2 separate regions of the Homo sapiens genome follow, and region 2 is linked to region 1. Evidence: promoter capture Hi-C in 16 types of primary human blood cells and fetal thymus (Javierre and others, 2016). All regions are on one chromosome and are shown on one strand. Each heading gives the region's core, a stretch centred on a gene start or on the middle of the fragment in contact. The rest is flanking DNA. Distances are from core to core; before and after follow the strand shown.

Region 1 (6,834 bases), core at 1,463-3,962:
GTCAGAAAAATCATACATGGTGCTACCCCAGGGTCCAGTTCTGGGTCTTCATTTTTATGGAGATCATGAATCAGCTTCAGAAACAATAACATTCCCTATCATTATACTATATCTGATTCTTGACAAATATTTGAGAAATGACTTGGAGACAAGTTTCTATTGGTGATAACCAGAGAATGGCTTCATGGATATGGGGACCAAGATATGGAGGTTTTGCACCTCAGGGATATGAGGATACTAAAATGTGAGACTGATTTATTATATAGTACAGCTTTCTGGTCCAAAATGAATCACTAAAATTTGCTTTAAAAATTTAAAAGCTAAAACGGAGTAGCCTTCCTTCTTGGTTTTATCCCAGAATTTTGAGCTTATTGAAGAACATAGCTTATATATTGCTATGCAATCGCATAGACCAAAGCCGAAGAATGTAGATTGCCTATACACCAAAAGGGGTGCAAATGTGCACAGCAGAATTAGCGAAGAATGAAGTCAGGAAACTGAAAATGTTTCTATACTAGGTGGAAATGCCAGATAAGGAGCAAAGATCATCAGTTATTTCCCATATGGCTGCAAAATCAACTCCTAAGGAAGGACCCAATGGAAACAAAAGCCACAATGAAAAGAAGCAATGATCCCAGCTTTTAGATGGAGATGAATACATGAAAATTCTAGCAAGAGTACATATTCAGATTCCAAAACATTTAGTGGTGATAACAATGTCTAGTTTTATTCACCCCTAGACCACAGCAAATTCTTCATGGAGGCACATCACATGGATCACTGCATAATTCAAAAGCCAATATTAAGAAAACAAAGTATTATATGAAGTAATATGTGAGCTGATGTGGGGTTTGGTGCTTTAGTTGAGTGACAGAGTAAAGCCATAGATTTATGTTCTGGAATATCTAATATAAACTTGGTTAAGGACCAAACATAAGGGAACGCAGCTAAGCAGGACTGATTTCATTTACTCATGCGAGCAACATTAATTGAGCTCCAACTATATGCTCAACACTGTACCAGGCATAGTAGGAGATACCAAAAGACTGTTTCAATGAATAACGTACATTCCAATTAGGAAAATATGCCTCATCCACACATGAAAACATAAATAACAACAGGAGGCAATACATTGTGGCCAAGTGACAACGAAATTAGCTATGATTTATTAAGTATTTTTCTACTAGCCAGGCTTGTGCTAAATGCTTTATATTCATCCTCTTGATCTTAAGTCATCCTGTGAGGTAGGTGCTATGATTATCTCCATTTTACAGATGAGAACACTTAAGTTCAAACATGTAAAACGGGATGCCAAAGGTCATACGACTTGTAAATGACAGAACTGACATTTGAACTCAAAATGAACTGACTCTAAGTCCTAAGCTCTTACTAAACCAATGGCTACAGAAATTCAGAAAATGGGGAAGGCTAATAGAGGAGCTGAGCTGGCCGTTAAGGGAAAGATAGGCTTCAGTTAGTCAAGGAGGAGGAAGAAGGGCCGAAGGGGTCAAGCATAGAGTAAATGCATGGAGACTGGAAAAGAGCTTGCGGAAATTGATTGCATTAGTCTAGCTGTCCAGTAAATTCCTATGTGGGCCAGATTTTGGTGGACAATGAATACCAGGCCGAAGATTGTGAACTGTAGGTTATCAGCAGCCACGAAACATTATAATGAATGCCAAGTTTCAAGCTGTAGACCCGTGGGAGATGAACTGCGAACCTGCCCGAGGAAGCGGCGCCCAAGTGGCTAGGGGCGGGGTCACAGGCGCCAGAGGTGTCGCTGGGGCACCTCTCCGGGCCTTCCCCCTTTTTCTTCCGGGCTGGGTCCCGCTACTCCAGTTCCGCTAGGCGGCGGAGACGGGGCCAGAGGTGGGACTACAATCTTGGCCCTCAGAGGGGTGCCCAGGCGGCCGCGGTAGGCGGCCCTCTTTCTCCGGCCTCGAGTGGGACTGGCACCCGTCTCGGGGGGCTCCACACTACCACGCAGGAAAGCCAACTCGTCCGCCGCCCGAAGCCGGGTTCCCCTAGACTCCCACGGGCCGCCTCCTTTTTCGTCCCCCCCGAGGCCGCGACTCTGAGGGTTCCGCTCTGCGGCGGAGGTGGGGCCAGGGGCGGGGATGTGGGCGGGGCCGTGAGGTCGTTCCAGGGCGCGGGGCGGGGCCGCCCCCTTACCTGTGCCCCTCAGGGTTCCAAACGTTCCACTCCGCGGCAGGGGCGGGGGCGAGTCCGGAGGGCGGGTCCAAGGCGCCCAGGTGGCCGCGGCAGAAGGGCCTGTTTCTCTGGCCTTGGCTGTGGTTGGCAGCCGGCCGGGGAGAGAAGGGACTCAGGGAGGCAACCTGGTTCCCGCCCGTTGCTGATTTCGCAGCGGCTCTCCCGGGCCGCCCCCTTTTCCTTCCTCCTCAGGCCGCGACTTGGAGGGTTCCGCTCCGCGGCGGGGGCAGAGCCAGGGGCGGGGCTGAGCGCGGCCTGGGCGATCTCCCCGGCGGCTGGGGTGGGCTGGCGTCTTCTTCGCGCCCGGGGGACCTCCTCGCGACCGCCGGGACGTAAAAGGGGCTTGGCAGGGGCGTCCTCGCCCCACTCCCGGAACCTGGTTTCCCGCTGCTCCCGCGAGCGTCGGGAGCCCAGCAGGCCTGGCCGAGGCGGGACCTTCGTCGCTCCAGCCCCCGTCCCCGCCCCCGCGCCTCCCCGCCGCGCGGAGCTCTGGTTGGCTTGCTTTCCAACCGGACTTTGGGGCTAGCGTTTAGAAAAGTCTCGACCTCCTCCGGCCCGGTCCCATCCCAAGAACCGACTAAGGCTGTGAGTGTCCGGGAACCAGACCCGCTTGGAGGCCACAGCCCCGACGTCCCGCGCCCACGCGGCAGATCGGGCGCTGCGGCCTGGGAGCCTCGGGGAGATGCGGAGCAGGAGCAATTCCGGGGTCCGCTTGGACGGGTACGCGCGGCTGGTGCAGCAAACCATCCTGTGTTACCAGGTAAGGAGGGACCGCCCCCAGGGAACGCGTGGAACTACCCTCTCATGTAACTCATTCTCCTTCCCAGGTCTGGCCCTCTTGTGACCTGAGACCTTGCAATTAAGAGTTTGCTATTTGAATCTAGTCCTTGCTAGCCAGTGATTACCACCCCATTGCCACCCCGTGCTCCTTAAGATTCAGGGGACCTAACTGTTGCTACGGCTACTTTTCACAGAATTCTTTGGCCATTGTTCAGGATGAGAATGAGCCGCCTCCGTGCCCGGGTCCAAACTGCCTCTTTTTGCATTGACTCTGCTTTTTTTGGACGAGAAGAGGTGTGGGGGGTTTGGACAGACTACACTGAATGAGAACAGTAGACAGGAGTGAAGAAGCTCCTGAAGTTTACGCAGGACTCTGCAGTGTGGGGCGACAGCTACCGTCCCTCCCATGAGCTGTCTTGGTAGAGACCCACCTGGGAAGCCCTTAGGGGCTACTTTGGTTGCTATTTTACAGATAAGAAAATTGTGAGGCTAGAAAGGTCACTGCATGTAGCAGGTCAGACCCAAAGGCTCCCAAGCTCACAGGGTCCTATGACACTGCCCATGTGGTCCGAGGTATGAATTTGCCTGCTATGCTTTGTATTCCTGGGCTAAAATTATGTGTGGGTCCATCAGTGTAAGACCACTGAACTATTTTTATTCCTAGTGAAGACAGCAGCTATGTTTCTTGCCCTCAATCAACAGCAACTATTTATAGGGCCTTCAAAGTCAACGAAGGAAGTGGCATTCAGGGGTTAGAGGCCTGACCTGCAAGTTGGGAGCCATGGTCATTTCCAAGGCACTGACCATTTTCCCTTCTTAACTAATTTCTTAGCCTTGTTTCCTCACTTAGGAAATATTTGTGGTGTATCTGTTATATGCAAAGCACTCTACAAAGTGCTGGGGTTACAAGAATAAATGATCGTAGTGCAGTAACATTTATGCATAAGGTATAGGTCCAAAGTCCCTTAATCTGTTTTCTTTGTTGTTGTTTGTTTGTTTTTGAGACAGGGTCTCACTCTGTCTCCTAGGCTGGAGTGCAGTGGCGCGATCTCGGCTCACTGAAACCTCTGCCTCTCGGGTTCAAGCGATTATCCTGCCTCAGCCTCCCGAGTAGCTGGGACTACAGGCGTGCGCCACCACACCCAGCTAATTTTTGCATTTTTAGTAGTGACGGGGTTTCACTGCGTTGGCCAGGCTGGTCTCGACCTCCTGACTTCAAGTCATCCTCTCACCACGGCCTCCCAAAAGTGCTGGGATTACAGGCATGAGCCACTGCACCTGGCCTCAGAGTCCATTATCTGAAACCCTTTGGACCAGTTGTGGTTTGCCCATCAGAAATGTTTGGCTTTTAGAAAGGTAATATGCGTACAACGTACTATATATACCATAATAACTGCAGCCAGATCTGGGCAGCACCCCTTCATCAAACAGGTTATTACTTCCACATCAGAATATGAATATTCACATAATTTCAGTAAAGGCTGAAAAGAGTTTCATATTAGTTCGGCTCATCTTTTGCCACCAAAAGAGCTTGCTGCAAACTTACGAAAACACTTTAAATTTTCAGAGCTTACTGGCTTTTGAGATTGCACATGAAGGATGATGGTCTTTATTTTGAGAGCTTTGAGGAAGGACCCCTCGCCCAGTTTGTGGGAGCAGTAGAGGAGTCCTGGAAGAGATGATGTTCAAGTTGAGAGCAGAAGAAGTAGGCAGGCAAATCAAGGTTATTTTTCCCCTTCTTCCTTGGAATATATTCTAATTACATCTATAAAGTGTTTTAAAATCCAAGTTGAAAAACCTTTCCCTTCATGACTGTGATGGAGAGGGCTTTAAGGAGAGCTGATGAAGCTTGGTTCTTTTGTCAGACCTGGGTTTGAATCCCCTGCTCTGCCTTGAATGACATGTGTGACCTTTCTTGATCCCTTCTGAGTCCATGCCCTCATCTGTAAAGTGAGGATAATAACACTTGCTTCCACTGAGTGTTTCTAAGGAAAAAATTAGTGCCTACTATCTTGTCTGGCACCTACTGGGCAACAGTAAATAATGGGTGCTCTTGGTGGTGTTATGATTTTGATAGAGGCCACACGTTTGTGCCCAGGCCTCGTGGTCCTTGCAGGAGTACTCTGGCTCATGGTGCGCCCTTTCCTGAAGGTCCTGCTACAGCTCCGCATTCCTTGAGCATAAATATGTCTCCCCATTGATGCCAAGAGATCCTAAGTACAGATACCTCATCAGTTTCCTTCCTTTGCATCAAGCAGTGGCCAAAGGCATGAAAGGTACCCTTAAGTCTTTGTTGGTAGAAGACTTCCAGCAGGACCTGAGTCATCCTAATAACCCAGCTATCCAGGCTTGCCTTCCCTCAGAAGCAAAAGAATTGTCTTCTCATTAAAGCAAATCTGTGAGATTGGACTTTCCTCCCCAACATTTTAATGATTAAAAAAAAGTTGTGTGAGCCTTTAGTTGTATTTATTTTGGGGGTAGTTGGTGAGTAGCCCTCATGTTTGCCCTCTTTTTCCCTTCCTGTGTCATCAAGCTCTTCTGGCTAACCAGGATACTCCCAGCACAGTTCTGCCGGGAAATGCCATGCGCCCACAAGTGCAGGATTGCACCCATTCACCCCCACAACTAGTGTTCACAGTTGTAGAGCCCTAACCCATTCAAGGCCTCATCACCTTCTCTGAGTAATCTTAGGCAGGTCCCCTAACTACTCTAGAAAAACGAATGAGCACTTTTATGTTATGTATATTTTACCACAATTAAAAAAAAAAGAATGAGCTGCACGAACGGTTTCTAAAGTGTATGTTGTATCTCCCCACCTGCTGTAGCTTTGTGCAGATGTTTAGGAGGCATTTTTTTTAGTGTCAGCTGGTAACAAGTTCTAAACTCTGTTTCTGATTTGCTTTTTAAATTGAGATCAATTTACATTGGTTTCATTTGTTAGAAATCATTTTGTGTTAAATATGCCAAGCTAATCACCATTTGAAGGGGCGGCCTGCCCCTCCACACCTGTGGGTATTTCTCGTCGAGTGGGACGAGAGACTGAGAAAAAGAAATAAGACTCAAAGACAAAGTATAGAGAAAGAACAGTGGGCCCAGGAGACCGGCGCTCAGCATACAGAGGACCTGCACCGGCACCGGTCTCTGAGTTCCCTCAGTATTTATTGATTACTATTTTCACTATCTCAGCAAGGGGAATGCGGCAGGAGAACAGGGTGATAGTGGGGAAAAGGTCAGCAAGAAAACATGTGAGCAAAGAAATCTGTGTCACAAATAAGTTCAAGGGAAGGTACTATGCTTGAATGTGCACGTAGGCTAGATTTATGCTTTTCTCCACCCAAACATCTCAGTGGAGTAAAGAGTAACAGAGCAGCATTGCTGCCAGCATATCTCGCCTCCTGCCACAGGGTGGTTTTTCTCCTATCTCAGAATAGAACAAATGTACAATCGGGTTTTATACAGAGACATTCAGTTCCCAGGGGCAGGCAGGAGACAGAGGCCTTCCTCTTTTACTAATCTTCCTCAGCACAGACCCTTCACGGGTGTTGGGCTGGAGGACTGTCAGGTCTTTCCCGTCCCATGAGGCCATATCTCAGGCTATCTCAGTGGGGAGAAACCTTGGACAATACCCGGCTTTCCTGGGCAGAGGTCCCTGCGGCTTTCCGCAGTGCATTGTGCCCCTGGTTTATCGAGAATGGAGAATGGCGATGACTTTTACCAAGCATACTGCCTGTAAACATTTTGTTAACAAGGCACATCCTGCATAGCCCTAGATCCCTTAAACCTTGATTGCATACAACACATGTTTTTGTGAGCTCAAGGTTGGGGCTAAAGTTACATCTCAAG
Region 2 (6,834 bases), core at 1,465-3,964, 310 kb after region 1:
AACCAAAAAGCGACAACGAAGTGTTTTTCTTTGTCCTTTTTTTCTTTTTAATTTTTTGGCATGTTTTTCTCGCAGAAGTGAAATGACAGATACCCTCTCCTATCCCACAAGGTCACTGCCGCCATAGTCCGACATGAGAAGTAGTGGAGGGCAGGGGCCGGGCGAAGTCCTAGACCCGATCCGGCGCCCCCGATCCGGCCGGGCCCTACCCCACCTCTCCTCCCAGTACGCCTCGGAAAATCGGGCGCTCGGGGAATGCACCTGGCTGCCCTTTGCCTGCAAGCCAGCAAGGGCCGGCCACCCAACCTCCAACTAAAATGTGGCAGGCAATACAGCAGCGCTTTGACTGCAGGTGAATTATTAAAGGTCGGTCATGATTATGACTCTGATTAAAAGTTCTATTTTTCATTAAACTCTGATGTGCAGAGCACGAAAAAAAAAAAACCCCACAGTCCCTTTTAATGCAGCAGTAGAATTTGTGGAATAGAGTTCATACACAGTATAAAATAAATGTCAGGCTTGTAGACATTCAATAAATACTGGTTGAATGAGCAAACGTTTCTCTAGTTTCTTTCTGTTCCTCTTTACTATTTCATTACAGTTTCCTTTGGGGAGTTTATTATTTGTTTAAATATTGGCTTTTTTATCTTTGACAAGAGGAATGAGGGTGTGGGCCATGGTGAGATGGTGGTAGCAAAAAATATAAAATGGGAAGGGGCACTCAGTATTTTTCTCTGCATTTTCAACCTAGTTATGCATCCTTAACAGTGTAGAAATTTGCGTCTTTTTCTAACTTGAGTGTAACTCTTTCCCTGTTATTACAATCACTTCATCAACTTTATTCTTTTTTTTTTTTTTGGAGGCGGAGTCTCACTCTGTCGCCCAGGCTGGAGTGCAGTGTCGTGATCTCAGCTCACTGCAACCTCTGCCTCCCGGGTTCACACCATTCTCCTGCCTCAGCCTCCCGAGTAGCTGGGACTACAGGCGCCTGCCACCTCGCCCGGCTAATTTTTTGTATTTTTAGTTGAGACGGGGTTTCACCGTGTTAGCCAGGATGGTCTCGATCTCCTGACCTCGTGATCCGCCCGCCTCGGCCTCCCAAAGTGCTAGGATTACAGGCTTGAGCCACCGTGCCCGGCCTTTTTTAAAACCACCTTAACCATTTTTTTTTTTTTTTGAGACAGAGTCTGGCTCTGTCACCCAGGCTGGAGTGCAGTGGTACAATCTCGGCTCACTGAAACCTCGGCCTCCTGGGTTCAAGCGATTCTCCTGCCTCAGCCTCCCGAGTAGCTGAGATTATAGGTGCACGCCACCACGCCCGACTAATTTTTGTATTTTTGGTAGAGACGAGGTTTCGCCATGTTGCCCAGGCTGGTCTCGAACTCCTGACCTCAAGTGATCTGCCTGCCTTGGCCTCCCAAAGTGCTGGGATTACAGGTGTGAGCCACCACCTCCAGCCCACCATAATCATTTTTAAGTGTACAGTTCAGTAGTGTTAAGTATATTCACATTGTTGTGAAACAGATCTCGGGAACTTTTTCATCTTGCAAAACTCAACTCTATACCTATTAAACAACTCCCCTTTTCCTCCCATCAACTTTATTCTGAATGGTGATGTAAAAATAATAGCTAATTATGTCTAGCACTGTGCTAAGTATTTTATACATATGATCTCTTGTAAGCCTCAAAATAACTCTCGAAAGTAGGCATTATTATCATCATCTTACAGATGAGAAAGTTTAGGCGCAGAGATATTAATAACTTGCCCTGAGGTCACAATGTAACAAGTGCTAGTGCTGCGATTTGGCACCCAGTCTGGGTTGGCAGTCTGTGCTCTTAAACCTACCAGGCTGCACTCATCTCTTGATTTACTTAACCAGCCCCCTAACCTTGGCCATTTAGATTGTTTCCAATTTGTTGTTGTTAAAAGTAACACAGCAATGCACAGCTTTGTGTTAACTGTCCTCCCACCACCACCAAATTTAGCATTTTCCTGAGTGAATAGGTGTGCACATGATGCCTAGTTGCTTTCAAAGAGGGGAATCCATGACATTTTCATACAATTCGAGAATGTTAGTGCTTATGTGGCAGGAAATTGTTCAAGGTCACCCCCTAAAAAATGATGGCGAAGAAAGGACGAAAACCTGAGACTTCTGGTTGTAGTTCTCTCCCTCCATTGCTTCCCTTACATTAAGATAGAATGAACAGTATGGGCCGGGCGCAGTGGCTGACGCCTGTAATCCCAGCACTTTGGGAGGCCGAGGTGGGTGGATCACCTGAGGTCAGGAGTCCGAGACCAGCCTGACTGACATGACGAAACCCCATCTCTACTAAAAATACAAAAATTAGCTGGGCGTGGTGGCGTGAGCCTATAATCCCAGCTACTCGGAAGGCTGAGGCAGGAGACTAGATTGAACCCGGGAGGCAGAGGTTGCAGTGAGCCGAGATGGCGCCATTGCACTCCAGCCTGGGTGACAAGAGCGAAACTCCATCTCAAAAAAAAAAAAAAAAAAAAAAAAAAGAACGAAAAGTATCTTCCTCGCGAACTGAATCTCAGTTGATGCTAGTATCTTCCATGAGACTTCCTTGTTGAGGCAGGTAACTCTGTGGGTTAACTTGATGGGGCTCAGCCAAAGACCTAAGAACTAAATGGATTAAGATGCTTAATGAGGCCAGGGCTCAACTTAATCCCCTGCTCCTGGGCCAGCTCTCCAGTTCAGTAAGGTAGAGCTTTGGCCGAGGACGAGGGGAAGATGTCACGCAAGATAGAAGGCTTTTTGTTATTACTTCTCTTTGGCTATGAAGGTATGTGCTATTCAACCATTGACATTCATTGCATACTTAATACATAATTTAATTAATATCGTTGATAAATAGGAATATAGCCTGAATAATATAAATATTATTAATTAGCAACACGTTAATTAACTAACATGTGTTATTAATGAACAACAGTTGTCTTTGTGTGGATGGCTTTCCAGTTCTGTGAGGAGCCTTCTAAAGTTCAAAGGATGCTTAAAATCCAACAGAAAACAGGATGGGTCTCAGAAATCTATAAAATAGCCATAAGTTGCAACAATTAATGAGAAAGTATGGCATATTCTGGAAAACTTTTAGGAGTCAAAGTGGGAGTGATTGTAGAATTTAATATTCCAAACCGGAATGCTATTGACGGTGGAGGACGATGCTATTAATAATTCTGTTGGGACGACAGGTGTAACCCAGGACCATCCAGGGCAAATTGGGGTGTAAGGTCAACCTAGTTTAAATATGGATTAACGTAACATACCCAGTACCACTGGAATCTAATAAAAAACATAATCCAACTGAGAGTCAGGAAACCTCGGAGACTCAGTACACTCACTCATTTTAAAATTTCTAAATATGACCCTAGCAGAAGTGATATGCTTCAATTAGGAAAAAATAAGGGCAAATCTGTAAAATGTCATCCAGTTCCAATTCCCTCTCAATCTTTGAAATAATATTCTTTCATGCCTCTCTCAATTCTCAAGTACCCATCTGCTCAGAATTTCTCCTCAGGTTCATCCAGATGTTAGAAATTGGTTGCCTGTCTTCTTTGTGGACATCGTGTATTTGTGTGTTATAGAAAATAAATTAAAAAGCAGGGAGAAGGAGGTCTCTGTGCTCTGCAAATGACCTGGTAGACAGACACAGCGAAACTCACACAAGTAGAATCAGAATTCTTGGTTTCACGGCTCACTGTAGCCTCAACCTCCCAGGCTCAAGCCATCCTCCTGCCTCAGCCTCCCTAGTAGCTGGGACTACAGGCACGCACCACCACATCCGGCTAATTTATTGTATTTCTTGTAGAGAGGGGTTTTCACCATGTTTCCCAGGCTGATGACTTTTGTTACTTAGTCACATTTCTCAGTATTTGGAAAGACTGGTGACAATATAATTCCAAGGTCATTCTGCAAACCCCAAGGTATATTTCTAAGTAGGGATCATGTAAACCAGTTGTCTGTTAGGATTTTTTCCCCTTGCAATTAATAGTCTGCAACTTGTCCCAGTAACTCTGACTACTTTAAGATGCTTTGGGGTTTTGTTGTTTTTCCTTTTACTCCTTGCCCCCTCCTCTTTCCTCAGCAAGAAAATCTAAGCAGACTCTTTCAAGGCTTAGATCTAAATACTCCTGGTTGTCAGACACTCCCAGGGCTCACTCTCGGATTTCTCTTCTTTGTGATTGGCATGGAGATTCATTCATTCATTCCTTGGTCCCTTCTTTTAAGAGCTCATCCCTGACTATCTGCTAGGGGGCAAACATTGTGTATGACGGCGGGGCGCGGTGGCTCATGACTGTAATCCCAGCACTTTGGGAGGCTGAGGCGGGTCTATCACCTGAGGTCAGGAGTTTGAGACCAGCCTGCCCAACCTGGTGAAACCCCGTCTCTACAAAAATACAAAAAGTATCTGGGCATGATGGCAGGTGCCTCTAATCCCAGCTACTCGGGGGAGGCTGAAGCGGGAGAATCGTCTGATTGCTGGAGAGGGAGGTTGCAGTGAGCTGAGATCATGCCATTGCACTCCAGCCTGGGTGACTGAGCGAGACTCAGTCTCAAAAAAAAAAAAAAAAAAAAGGACTTGACATGCAGGGCATCCTTGTTTCTTCCACAGTGCTGAGTCTAACAACCCTGTTCTGTGACCTCCCCACCCCCGCGATGCGAAGAAGTCCTAGAAATGTTTACCAAAGCATTTTAAAATTAGACCTGCCCAGTTAGTGGATATCAGCAATAAAAGACAGGCTGTCAGGAGGCATGAAGGATAGCACTCTTTCGTGTTCTAAAGTTTACCAATCTTTGTGCATGGCTGGGGAGCTCCAGAAATGTCCACGAAGAGCAGAGAACATCGTCTCTCCAGGTGCCCTGCAACGTGGGCCAGTGGGAAGGTTTGGGGAGCTTAAATTATCTTACTTGCTTAACGCAGGCCTTTAACAGCACTTGAAAGGAAAGCAGCCAGCCAAAAATAGCCAGTGTGGCTTGGCAACCTACTGTGTGCCCTACCCTGGGCCAGAGGGATGCTCCAGGGGACAGAGGACACAATCACTGAACTTAATCAGCATATTATCCAGATGGAGATGCATAAGGCCCATAGACATGGGAAAGATGCATCCCATTGTACAGCTGGGAACCTGAAGACAAAGGCTGTTTGTCCAATTTACCCTCCACTGCTTCTGTCCTTCAGTGGCAGTGTCTCCTCATTACAGTGAAATAAGGTAAAGAAATTGCCTTCACTTAGGCGTTGGATGAAGGTTCATTTCGGAGAGCACACAGCCTCACAGTAAGGCATTTCCTATGTCTTTTTTTTTTTTTTTTTGAGAATTTCACTCTTGTTGCCCAGGCTGGAGTGCAGTGGCGTGATCTCGGCTCACCACAACCTCCATCTCCCGGGTTCAAGCGATTCTCCTGCCTCAGGCTCCCGAGTGGCTGGGATTACAGACGTGTGCCACCACGCCCGGATCATTTTTGTAATTTTAGTAGAGACGGGGTTTCTCCATGTTGGCCAGGCTGGTCTCGAACTCCCGACCTCAGGTGATCTGCCTGCCTCGGCCTCCCAAAGTGCTGGGATTACAGGCATGAGCCACCGCACCTGGCTTCCTATGTCTTATAATTGAGTCAGGCTTCTATTTCTCTTACACCGCACATATTGGATTCAATGCCAATAAGGATTTTTAGAACATCCATCGTATTAAAATATCTTACTTCATTACTTGGTCATGTTTATTATATAAAAACAAAAAAAGTCCTTCAGCCTCAACTTATAGGTGACTGTGTTACCATCAGAGATTGCAGGGGTTTTTTTAAAGCAGTTTTATTGAGATGTAATTTATATACTCTTAAATTCACCCATTGAAAGTCTATTGTTCGATCGTTTTAAGTATATTTACAGATTTGTGGAGCACATAATCTAATTTTAGAACATTTTCATCACCCAAACATTAAGCCCTCGCTCCCCATTCTCCCTGTCTCCCCCCTCCCCCAGCCCCTGGGCAACCACGGATCGACTTTCTGTCTCTAAAGATTTGCCAGTTCTGGACAGTTCATTTCAATGGAGTCACACAGCATGTGGTCTTTTGTCTTTCGCTTAGCATATGTGGTTGAGGTTCATCTGTGTTTGAAGCATGTGCAGATAACAGATTTACCCATGAATATGCCTGTCGCCTAAAATAGTAACACTTTCACACCAGAAGCAATTTCCTTCTTTCTCTTTCACGAGAGGGACATTATTGCAGCCTGCTGCGTGCGTTCCTCCTGTTTCTCAAGCAGATTGGAAGCTGGTTACAGACCATTTTTAATCATTCATAATTTTATGCTTTTCTTCTCGGCTTCATCTGTTTCCATGGGAAGGAACGCTCTATGGTTGGTGATACCCAATCCAAGAGACTAAACTAGGTTTTCCTGTGTGTATCTAAAGCGCGCCTTTCCTCATGGGTTGCAAGGTACATTTCAAGAAATAGACACGCCTTGAAATTTCCTGCTGTGACAACAAGGGTTTCCTCACAGCAGAGTGGCCCTTTTGGACCAAGGGGCAGAATGAGCCCATATTGCATAAATCTAAGCCCACATTGCATAAATCTAAGATTGGTGACTGGCGGATGTCTCATGTAACATGTGGCGGAATCACAGAAGCCATCTAAACAGGGAGAAAAATATGCAACCACATAATCGAAATATTTCACTATTTTTCCTTTAGAGGCTGAGATATTTCTCTTGTTCCCCTTCCAACAATGCTATTTTCTGGTATGATACTATTAGGTTGGTGCAAGAGTAACTGCGGTTTTTGCCATTACAATATGTTGTCGCCAAAAATGCTTTT

What was found. Contacts are between HindIII fragments. The CHiCAGO score rates a contact against its expected background, and 5 or more counts as called.
Region 2: the fragment with the promoter of RS1 here is called in contact with the fragment with the promoter of PHKA2 in region 1 in 7 of 17 cell types (naive B cells, total B cells, naive CD4 T cells and 4 more); the score reaches 8.5 in naive B cells.

What each region holds. Positions count from the first base shown.
Region 1 is chrX:18,979,992-18,986,825 of GRCh38, reverse strand. PHKA2 (phosphorylase kinase regulatory subunit alpha 2) reads left to right here and starts at 2,712. Exons shown (of 33, transcript NM_000292.3): 1 at 2,712-2,971. The coding sequence starts at 2,894. RefSeq lists enhancers at 1,878-1,927, 1,909-2,409, 2,410-2,910 and a silencer at 2,028-2,717. The HindIII fragment of the contact is 8,902 bases long and covers 1-4,841 here.
Region 2 is chrX:18,667,988-18,674,821 of GRCh38, reverse strand. RS1 (retinoschisin 1) reads left to right here and starts at 2,714. Exons shown (of 6, transcript NM_000330.4): 1 at 2,714-2,805. The coding sequence starts at 2,754. The HindIII fragment of the contact is 14,405 bases long and covers 1-6,834 here.